Regions from separate parts of the Homo sapiens genome. Here region 2 is linked to region 1. The links are contacts of gene promoters, found by promoter capture Hi-C in blood cells and fetal thymus (Javierre and others, 2016). All regions are on one chromosome and are shown on one strand. Each heading gives the region's core, a stretch centred on a gene start or on the middle of the fragment in contact. The rest is flanking DNA. Distances are from core to core; before and after follow the strand shown. Region 1 holds the start of UGGT1 (UDP-glucose glycoprotein glucosyltransferase 1). Region 2 has its middle 130 kb from the start of LINC02572.

Region 1 (5,166 bases), core at 1,319-3,818:
TCATACTTTAATATAGATATTTGAAATGTAATCATTGGGGGAATGGGCTTAAGGGTACAAAGTACCTCTGTGTACTATCTTTGCAACTTCTTGTGAATTTATAATTATTTCTAAATAAAAAGTTTAAAAAATTTTTTAAAATCTGTTTTTATTCAAATAAGGTAGCACTTTTCAGAGAAAGGTTTAGAAAAGGTGAAATCCAACTTTCCTAGAAGCTCTGTGCTACCACTTAGCTGTATTTTAAAACTAAGCAAACTTTGGTTTTGTTCATGGATCACATAGCAGAAGATCAAGATAAGGCCAAGAAAAAGTATATAATCAACTTTGTAATGAGGTGAATTAACAATTTCCTTTTTATTGAAGCATTAGCTGATGTGATTTAAAGAGGGCTAGAAAATACACTATGGAAAGCTAACACAACAGCTCCCTTGTGAAATAAATTTTAAAATGCTCATGTTTTTTTCTTTTCGTAGGTGTGTGTACACATTTAGTTTTATTGTAACAAAGCAACTTGTACACTTTTAACATTTAAAACTGAGCATGATCTTTCCTTTCCAGTGAAACAAAATTTAAAAATAAACAGGAACAAAATTACAATAGAGAATGTCAATTCCAAATAAGATCCTAGAGGTTCTGCTGATTCTCCCACTGAGTGGCAGGGCTCAAGTCATCATTAGGAGAGAATTTATTTTAAAAGCGTCATCTTAAACTGCAAGGATGTGTGTCAAACATCGCAATTAAACATGCCAAAGGAGAAGCCATGTTGTCAAAATGTCCGCTTAACCCACCCAAACATCTCAGACCCACCCTTTGCTGACTTCTAGAATCCCATTTTTTAAAGTTTTTTTCTTTTTTTAAACAAGAGAAAGTAGACAGAAAGATGTTGGTAAATGCTAACTGTCCATATTCACATAGAGACCCAGTGTACTCTCCGAGCCCAATATACAGAGAAAGCAGGAAGAAAGCTAGAATTGAATGCTCTGCTACACATGGGCCTAGAGCCCTCCAGCTTCCAGCAGGGCGAAGGGAGCAGGTTTTTCTTTTTTCCCACAGAGCTGGGGTGATGTTGATTCTATACAGTTTTTGCTCAGACAGGAAGGGATAAAAATGAATTTCGAACAGAAAGGGGTAGAGACTCTTTTCCCATTGTATTCTGCTGAAGTTATTTCCCCCAAAATAAGTTGAGAACTATAGTGTAGAGAAAAGAAACCTCAAGAACAGGGCGACTGAGCACAAGAGAGAAAAAACAAAAAACAAAAAAACAAAAAAACTGCAACTTGCTCCCAGGGACTGGAGAAAATGTAAAAAAAGGAAGGTTGGAATCCATCAGTGTTTTTTTGCTGTTGTTGTTGCTGTTTTTTTTTTTTTTGAGATGGAGTCTCCCTCTCTCGCCCAGGCTGGAGTGCAGTGATGCGATCTCTGCTCACTGCAAGCAACCTCCGCCTCCCGGGTTCACGCCATTCTCCTGCCTCAGCCTCCATCCTCAGCGTGAGCCACCGCGCCCGGCCTCCATCAGTGTTCCATTAGTCATCTCCTTCATCCTCCTCTCCTTCCTCCCCTTCATCATGTTGGCTCATGTTTATTTATTAAAATTATTTTGGGCCGGGCGCAGTGGGTCACGCCTGTAATCCCAGCACTTGGGAGGCCGAGGCGGGTGGATCATCTGAGGTCAGCAGTTCGAGACCAGCCTGGCCAACAGGGTGAAACCCTGTCTCTACTAAAAATACAAAAATTAGCCAGGCGCGGTGGCGCACGCCTGTAATCCCAGCTACTGGGGAGGCTGAGGTGGGAGAATCGCTTGAATGCGGGTCGGGGGGTTGGGGGGTGGGGGGCGCGGGCGGGGGCGCGGAGGTTGCAGTGAGCCGAGATCGCGCCACTGCATTCCAGCCTGGGAGACAGAGCGAGACTCCAACTCCAAAAAAATATTTTTGGCTTTTCATTCACTTTGACTTAATATACTTAAAAATATACCCTCCAAAGAGGTATTCATTTTTGGGTGGGTTAAATGCTACCTATTCCAAAACAATTTTAAACTGGTTTATATTAGTTAAAAAAAAAATACTAAAAGGACAAAGTAGTCCCTGTAGACTAAGCTGCCGCTGTCCGAATAAGAAAGCTCAAGCGGCTCATAAAATTTAAAAAGTCTTCCTTTCATCATGCCTCCTGGAAGGTAGCTATCAAAATTTTAGGGTTTAGTATAAAGTCTAAGATGCTCAGAAACATTAAGACAATTGTCCTTACTGTGCCACCGAAAGGCTAAAGGGAGTAAGCTTTTAACAAAGGTTTAAGGGAGTAAGTCCCAGAGTCCAAACTGGATTTCACCGACTGACTGTTGAAGCTTTCGGGTCTCAGCTGTTGGCCCAACGAACCTTCCCAAGACCTTGAAGACCGGCAGCCTACCCGCCACCCTGAAAGGCGGAAGTGAGGAGAGAGGCAGGACTCCCCCCTCCCCAACCCTCGGAGATGAGAGGGCGACCGCGCGACGCTCTGGGCTGCTAGGTCTCGACTCGGTATCCGGAAGTCCTCCAGCGTTCGCCTGCAGGAAGCGGAAGTAAAAGGGCGGCCGGCAGCTGGGCAATTGCTTTGCGAGGCTGGGTGTTGAGTCGAGCCGCGGGAAAGGCGCGTGTCGGCCTCTCACTGGCGCAGCCTGCACTGCCGCTGCCGCCTCGCCCCGCCCTGCCCTGGCGTTGTCTCTGGCACTGTGGCGGACTGACCACGGCCCGGGCATGGGCTGCAAGGGAGACGCGAGCGGTGCGTGTGCCGCGGGTGCGCTGCCGGTGACAGGTACCCAGGGGTGGCGTGAGGAGGCCTCGTGGACAAAGAGAGGGTTTGGGGCACAAGGCGACCCTGTGCCCCTGTCACATTGAGCTTCCGCCTCTACCGTGACTCAGTTTACCCTCTGGTGTCCTATCCCTTCCCCTATTCGCGAGCGCCCCGAGTTGCCCTCAGTGGTCTTCTTGGCAAGGTATCGCTTCCGCGGGGGTGGCGGCGGGCTCTGTTCAGCGGTCTTGAACCTTCTTTGAAGAGCTTTAGATCCTTGTGCCAAGTGCAGAAGGAAATGGGGGAGGTATCCTACCATGGATTTAGACCAAGCTTGATCCTCAGTGAGTTGAGAAGCAGCACTTTGCAGGACCCTGATTGCAGAACGACGTGCTTTTTAAAATAGATTTCAATTTTTCCTAAAATGAATTCGGGTTGATGCGTATTGGTTACTGTTTTCTTTTAACACTGTGATCTGTTGGCTGGAAATTGGATGATATGGTTTCACTTTTAGCGTGGGACCTGCCAGAATGAGATCTGCGTCCGTCGCCAATAACTTATAGATGTGAACTGTTTTTGTTCCTTGGCCAGAATCTGCAGTTGTTTTGCATTTCTTGCCAGATTTGAGAAGGAGCAATTTTGTTCGTTTGAAGTCCTGGGGTCTTTTGCCTTATTGTGCTACACTAACTGTTTTGGAAACATTCATTGATGTACTTGCCAGCCAATTTTAGTGTAAAGTGCCCTCTTTCCTTCAAGAATCTTACACTTGCAGGCGTTTGAAGACATTTTAAATAGCTATTTAACAGCACCACAAAACTTGGAATAATTGTAGCCTTTTCACTTTGCTTTTTTTTTTTTTAAGCCAGTCGAATTTAGCAACACTTGACTTGCTTTTGATAAACTTAGCTGAAGCTTATTTTAAAAAAATTCTTATTTATTTATTTATTTATTTATTTTGTAGAGATGAGGTCTTGTTACCTACCAGTCTGATCTTGAACTCCTGGCCACATGAAACTTATTAAAGGAAGTGACCATAATACTTTGTACAGTAGCATAGCACATTTATAATGCACATTGAACTTCAGGGGAATATATGAAAGTAAGAAGAAAATTTGCTTAGAACTTTCCTGCAGCTGTCTGTGAGCATTTTCTTTTTTTATCTAAGTTTCCCTGTAACAATACAAGATGATGTGATAATTTTCTTTCTTTCTTTCTTTTTTTTTTTTTTTTTGAGATGGAGTTTCACTCTTGTTACCCAGGCTGGAGTGCAATGGTGCAAGAGATAGTGTTTTAATTTATTTTTTTATTTTTTGTTGGTGAGGCAGAGTCTTGCTCTGTTGCCCAGGTTAGAGAATAGTGACATGATCTTGCTAGCTGCAGCCTCCACCTCCTGGGCTCAGGTGGTCCTCCTACCTCAGCCTCCTACGGATGGTTGTTGATAGTTGGGCCTAGAACTTGTTAAAGAGTGTTTTCTGTTTATTCATCATGCCGCAAGTATAATGCTTATCATGCAAAGCCACATGGCACATTCTGTTGGCCATTATCTCAGACTGTTTGTCTTTATAAGCAACATTTAAGAACCCCTAGGGTCAGAATGATAAGGGATCCTATAAAATGAAGACATACTCAAAGCAGAGACCACTTCAGTGAGATTCTTACGTCTGCTTCTCTGGACAGTCTTTTCCTCTGGTTTTACCTGTAGAGTTAAGAATGTGGGGTCAGAGTGGCAAAGCTCTTTTTTAATGTATAGCTTTCCTCCTTTTTTCATCTCAAATGGTGCTGCATCTCTCCCCAAGAACACGTACTCTCTCTCCTTTTTGAAAACAGTGTAGGGGGATCTCGAGGCAGGCCACAGGTTCATAGGATTTTCATTTTACCTATCTTGCAGTCCTAGGCATTTTATAGCATCTTCACTCTTGGTGCCACACTCCTTTCCTGTTGTTTCCATTCATGCCTTAATGAATGAGGCCTGTGTTTATTTCATTTTGAGAGCCTTCTATGTTTCAGGCATAATGCTAGGCGTGGAGACCATGATAGACAAAACACCCTGCTCTTGAGGAGCTCCCATCGGTCCCCAAAGCCAGCGTAAGTGTGGATCTGTCAGATTGGTTGGTTGGATTGCTTCGGTCCCAGCTTCAGGCCTCCTCCCTTGGTTTCAGGTTAAAACTATTCCTTTCTCAGCCACCTGTCTCCCAAGAACTGTGGCCACTGAAAATCCTTGGACTTGCCTTGGTTCTCACAAGCACTTTTCTCAGTCTGAGTCTGCACAGAGTATGGCTTTTTACCCTTTTGTAAAGCCAGAGAACCAGAGAAGAGAGCACGGTATTGTAGAACTTTAAAAGCAGGAAGGTGTGGGTTCTAAGCACTGCTATTTATTAGTTAGGCAAGGTACTCAGCATCTTCGAG
Region 2 (5,166 bases), core at 1,592-4,091, 1.7 Mb after region 1:
CTGATAGAGATACCTGAGACTGGGAAATTTACAAAAGAAACAGGTTTAATGGACTCACAGTTCCACATGGCTGGGGAGGCCTCACAATCATGGCAGAAGGCAAGGAGAAGCAAGTCACATCTTACATGAATGGCATCAGGCAAAGAGAGAGCTTGTGCAGGGAAAATCCCATTTTTTAAACCATCAGATCTCGTGAGACTTATTCATTATCAGGAGAACACCACAGGAAAGACCCGCCCCCATGATTCAATTACCTCCCACCAGGTTCCTCCCACGACACATGGCAATTGTGGGAGTTACAATTCAAGATGAGATTTGGGTGGGGACACAGAGCCAAACCATATCAAATGGTTAACTGTTTTATATTATGGGGATTTTACCACAATACATATGTTTTTAACTATCCAGTGTGTGCAGATTATATATGGAGGTAAGAACCACAAGAAATGAAACTGATTGTTCATAGCAAGCAGGGCCAGAGATTGGGATGGGTGGGAAGTGGGCGCTGCTTCTCATTGGAAGTCTCACTTAACTTAGTAGCATAAAATGGAATGTATCAATTTGATGAAAATAATTTCTTATAACATGCATGAAACTAGTTTTTTCCCTAACATGGCAGATTAGAGGCTTTTAGCTTGCCCTGGCTACTTGGAAATAGCAAAATAGTGCATAAAGACCAACTCTGAGTTTTAACTCAAGAAGGAAAATAGGAATCCACAAAACAGTGAAGGACACCCCAGATCCTAGGGAGGAGAAGGCAGGCAGAAAGCCCCGTGACAGTATCCATCCAGCCACTGAGAAAAGTGAGTGAAGCCCCAGGACCTGCGAGGGGCAGAACACCTCCCCTATCCCCTAGGGATCCAAGCAACCCACAAAGAGGGGAGCACTTTTTCTCTCCCAAGTCCTGGAGCTGACTCAGAGACAGGCTTGGAGACACTGAGAAAGAAAGACACCTAGAAAAGCTGCAGGCATTTTCCCAGACCTGGGACTGAGAGCAGGATGGCCTTTTTAATCCAGGCTCATACAGAGTCAGTCATTCTTTGGCAACCCAGCAGCATGGCCATGCATGCATTTTGGTCTCAGGCCAGAGACTGGAGTGCTTCCTCTGGAGCAAGTTAGGGGCCTACACAGCCAGAATTCATGGCAAGTGTGGAAAGTGCCCCAGCAGTAGGCACTGGAATTGTGATCTTCCCTGTCACAGGTCTGAGGTGGGAGGAGAGCTGCTGCAGCGTGGTTTCTCCTCGTCCCAGAGACTTGTGGCCAGCGCCTAGTTGGCAACCTATAACTGGTCTGTGCACGTCATTGCCGGGGTCCCAGCCTGCTCCTCTGGAATTGTGGTGCATCAGGACCCGCTCTTTTCCATCCCCAGGCATTCAGAGCACCTGCTCACCCAGATGAGAAGCCTGAGTTGCCCCACCCTTCCTGAGCAGAGATCCTGGTACAGGAGAGCCCTCTCTGCTTCATGCCCAGGCAGGCCGCCAGGCATCTGGAACCCACCCTCTCCTGGATTAGGAATTTAGGCAGCCACCTGAGGTTCCCATGCAGAGCTACTTGGGGCCAAAGAGGTTTTCTAGCTCCACGCCTAGGAACATCTCTGGGCACTGGTGGCTGCCCACTGGACTCCCACTCAGAGCTGGTGCTTGTGCCACAGCCAGCTCCTACCCATACAAGCCACCGAGCCACTCGTTGGCTTAGAGGCCAAATGGGGCAGCACAATAGAAAATCTGCTAACACCAACGCAGAGCAATGGGGAACTAGAGGAGCTCCTGAGACTGCTGCCTCCCTGCCCCCACAAGAGGCACAGGCCTGCCCACACGCCCAGCATATGCCACTACAACCAGCATCTGGGGAAGCCACCATACAGAGGCCACAGTAACCAAGGAACTCAGACAGGCTCTTTGCTAGTGAAAACACCCAGACCCAGAGAGCTAAGCCTTGGCCCCTAAGAGAGTGATGGACCCAGCACAGCCCGCCAAAGCCTCCCTTGAGTCAAAGGAAATGCAGGCATGACACTACCGTTGGCCTGAAACAGACTCAGAGAGGGGTCTTTCCTTGTTGCCCTCCCTCCTTAATGCACTGTTGTTGACTCAGCAGCAGCTCTTCCTGTCTGGGTTCAGGGAGGATGGGCTAAAAGAGACTGCTTCTGGGACTGCTCCAGCAGCTCCATCCTCACTGAACGTGCATTTCACCCTTCTCCATTGCCTCTGTCCCCACCCGTACCTGCCAACTCTTAATCTTAAGCTCCACCTACTGGACAACAGCCTGAACCTGTATGCAATCAAGGAACACGTACAGTGCGTTGGCACACTGAAAGCGCCCAGAGACAAAGCCAATGGTTCATACACAGTATACACCACAGTCATTCCTTTAAGAGAAAAAAGAGCTTAAAAATCAAGAAGCTTCATTCAAAGAATAGCAAATTCAACATAAAAGAAAGAAGCAGCAGCAGCAGCTCTCTCAGATAATAAGGAACCTACACAAGAACTCTAGCAATACAAAAAGCCAGAGTGTCTCATCACCTCCGAAGGATCAACACCAGCTACCAAGCAATGGATCCTAACTAGAATGAAATGTCTGAAATGACAGAGAATTCAGAATGTGGGTGGCAAAGAAACTCAATGAGCTCCAATAGAAAGCTGAAATCCAACACAAAGAAAACAGAACAAATTATCCAAGTTTTGAAAGACAGCATAACTACGTTAGAAAAGAACCAAACAGAACTTCTGGAAATGAAAATTTCACTATAGGAATTTCAAAACATAGTTGGAAGACTTAACAACAGACTAGACCAAGCAGAAGAAAGAATTTCAGAGCTCAAAGACTGGGGCTCTGAATCAACCCAGTCAGACAAAAATAAAGAAAAAAGAATGTTAAAAATGAACAAAACCTTCAAGAAACATGGGATTTTGTAAAGTCACCAAATAAATGACTTAAGAAAAGAAGGAGCAACTTGGAAAATAGATTTGAGGATAAAATTCAGGAAAATTTTCCCAAACTTGTGAGAGAGGTCAATATGCAGATACAAGAAATCCAGAGAACTCCTGGAGATATTGTACATGATGACCATTACCAAGGCGCATAGTCATCAAACTAGCCAAGGTCAATGCAAAAGAAAAAATCTTCAAGGCAGCTAGAGAAAAGTGTCATATTACCCATAAAGGGAAATCCATCACACTAACAGTTGACTCTCGCAGAAACCTCATAAGGCAGAAGAGATTGGGGGCCCATTTTTAGCGTTCTGAAAGAAAGAAAATGCCAGCCAAGAATTTCGTATCCTGCCTCACTAAGCTTCATAAACGAAGGTGAAATAAACTCTTTCCCAGAAAAACAATCAGTAAGGAAAATTGTCACCACCAGACTGGCCCAACAAGAGATGCTTAAGGGAGTTTTAAATATGGTAATAAAGGAACGAACGATACTTGCTACCATGAAAGCACACACAAGCACATAGCCCACAGACCCTATAAAGTAACTTGCTAACAACACTAGGACAGGAATGAAACCTCACATATTAATAGTAACCTTGGATGTAAATGGCCTAAATGCCCCACTTAAAAGACACAGAGTGGCAAATTGGTAATTAAAAACAAGACTCATCCTTCTGCTCTATGCAAGAGACCCATCTCACAAGTCACGACACCCATAGTCTCAAAGTAAAGGCATGGAGAAAGATCTATCATGTAAATGGAAAACAAAAAGAGCAGAAGTCACTATTCTTGTATCAGATAAAATAGGTTTTAAAGCAACAACAGTCAAAAAGGAAAAAGAAGGGCCCAAATAGCCAAAGAAATTTTACGCAGAAAAAATAAAGCCAGAGGCATCACATTATCCAACTTCAAACATACTACAAGGCTACAGTAACCCAAACAGCATGGTACTGATACAAAAACAAACACATAAACGAATGGAACAGAACAGAGACTCCTGAAATAGAGCCACATACCTATAACCAACTCATCTTTGACAGTCAACAAAAAAAAAAAAAAAAAAAATGGGGAAAGGACACACTATTTAATAAATGGTCCTGGGAAAACTGGCTAGCCTATCAACATATATAAAAATTAATGCAAGTAGATTAAATACTTAAATGTAACACCTCAAACTACAAAAATCCAGAAGAAAATCCAGAAAATACTCTTCTAGACATTGGCCTAGGCAAATAATTTATGATGAAGACCCCAAAATCAAAAATAGACAAATGAGACTTAACTGAAGAGCTTTTGCACAGAAAAAGAAAAAAAAAAGAAACAAACAAAAAAACACCTCTCAACAGAATAAACAGACAACCTACAGAATGGGATAAAATATTTGCAAATCATGTACTCGACAAAGGACTAATCTCCAGAATCTATAAGGAACTTAAATGAATCAACAAGAAAGAAACAACCCCATTAAAAAGTGGGCAAAGGACATGAACAGACACTTCTCAAAAGAAGACATACAAGCAGCCAACAAACATATGAGAAAATGTTCAACATTACTAATCACCAGAGAGATGCAAATCAAAACCACAATGAGATACCACCTCTTACCAGTCAGAATGGCTATTATTAAAAAGTCAAAAAATAATAACTGTTGGAGAGGTTGTAGAGAAAATTATATGTTTATATACTGTTGGTGGCAATGCAATTAGGCAGAAAGCAGTTTGGAAATTTCCAATGAACTGAAAATAGAATTGTCACTCAACCCAGCTATCTCATTACTGGATGTATTCGCAAAGGAAAGTAAATTGTTATACCAAAAAGACACTTGCACCCATATGTTCATCACAGCACTATTCACAATAGCAAAGATGTGGAATCAACTCAGATACCCATCAATGGTGGACTGGATAAAGAAAATGTGGTACATAATGCCATGGAATACACCATTGCCGTAGAAAAAGAACAAAGTCATGTCCTTTGCAGCAACATAGTTGCAGCTGGAGGTCATTACCCTAAGTGAACTAACACAGGAACAGAAACCAAATACCACATGTTCTCACTTATAAGTGGGAGTTAAATCTTGGGTTCACATGAACTTAAGATGGAAACAGTAGACACTGGGGACTCAAAAATGAAGGAAGGAGGAAGAGGGGGAAGGGGGCAAAGGCTTAAAACCTTCCTATTGGATATTATGCTCATTATCTGGGTAACAGGAACAATAGAAGCCCAAACCTTATTACCA

The links. Contacts are between HindIII fragments. The CHiCAGO score rates a contact against its expected background, and 5 or more counts as called.
Region 2: a fragment that was not itself captured here is called in contact with the fragment with the promoter of UGGT1 in region 1 in 1 of 17 cell types (M1 macrophages); the score reaches 7.1 in M1 macrophages.

What each region holds. Positions count from the first base shown.
Region 1 is chr2:128,088,632-128,093,797 of GRCh38, forward strand. It overlaps UGGT1 (UDP-glucose glycoprotein glucosyltransferase 1), which reads left to right and starts at 2,569. Exons shown (of 41, transcript NM_020120.4): 1 at 2,569-2,784. The coding sequence starts at 2,727. RefSeq lists an enhancer at 2,331-2,640. The HindIII fragment of the contact is 755 bases long and covers 2,337-3,091 here.
Region 2 is chr2:129,746,650-129,751,815 of GRCh38, forward strand. No RefSeq gene overlaps it. Among named protein-coding and RNA genes, the nearest start is that of LINC02572, 130 kb to the right of the region's middle. RefSeq lists an enhancer at 1,071-1,683. The HindIII fragment of the contact is 889 bases long and covers 2,398-3,286 here.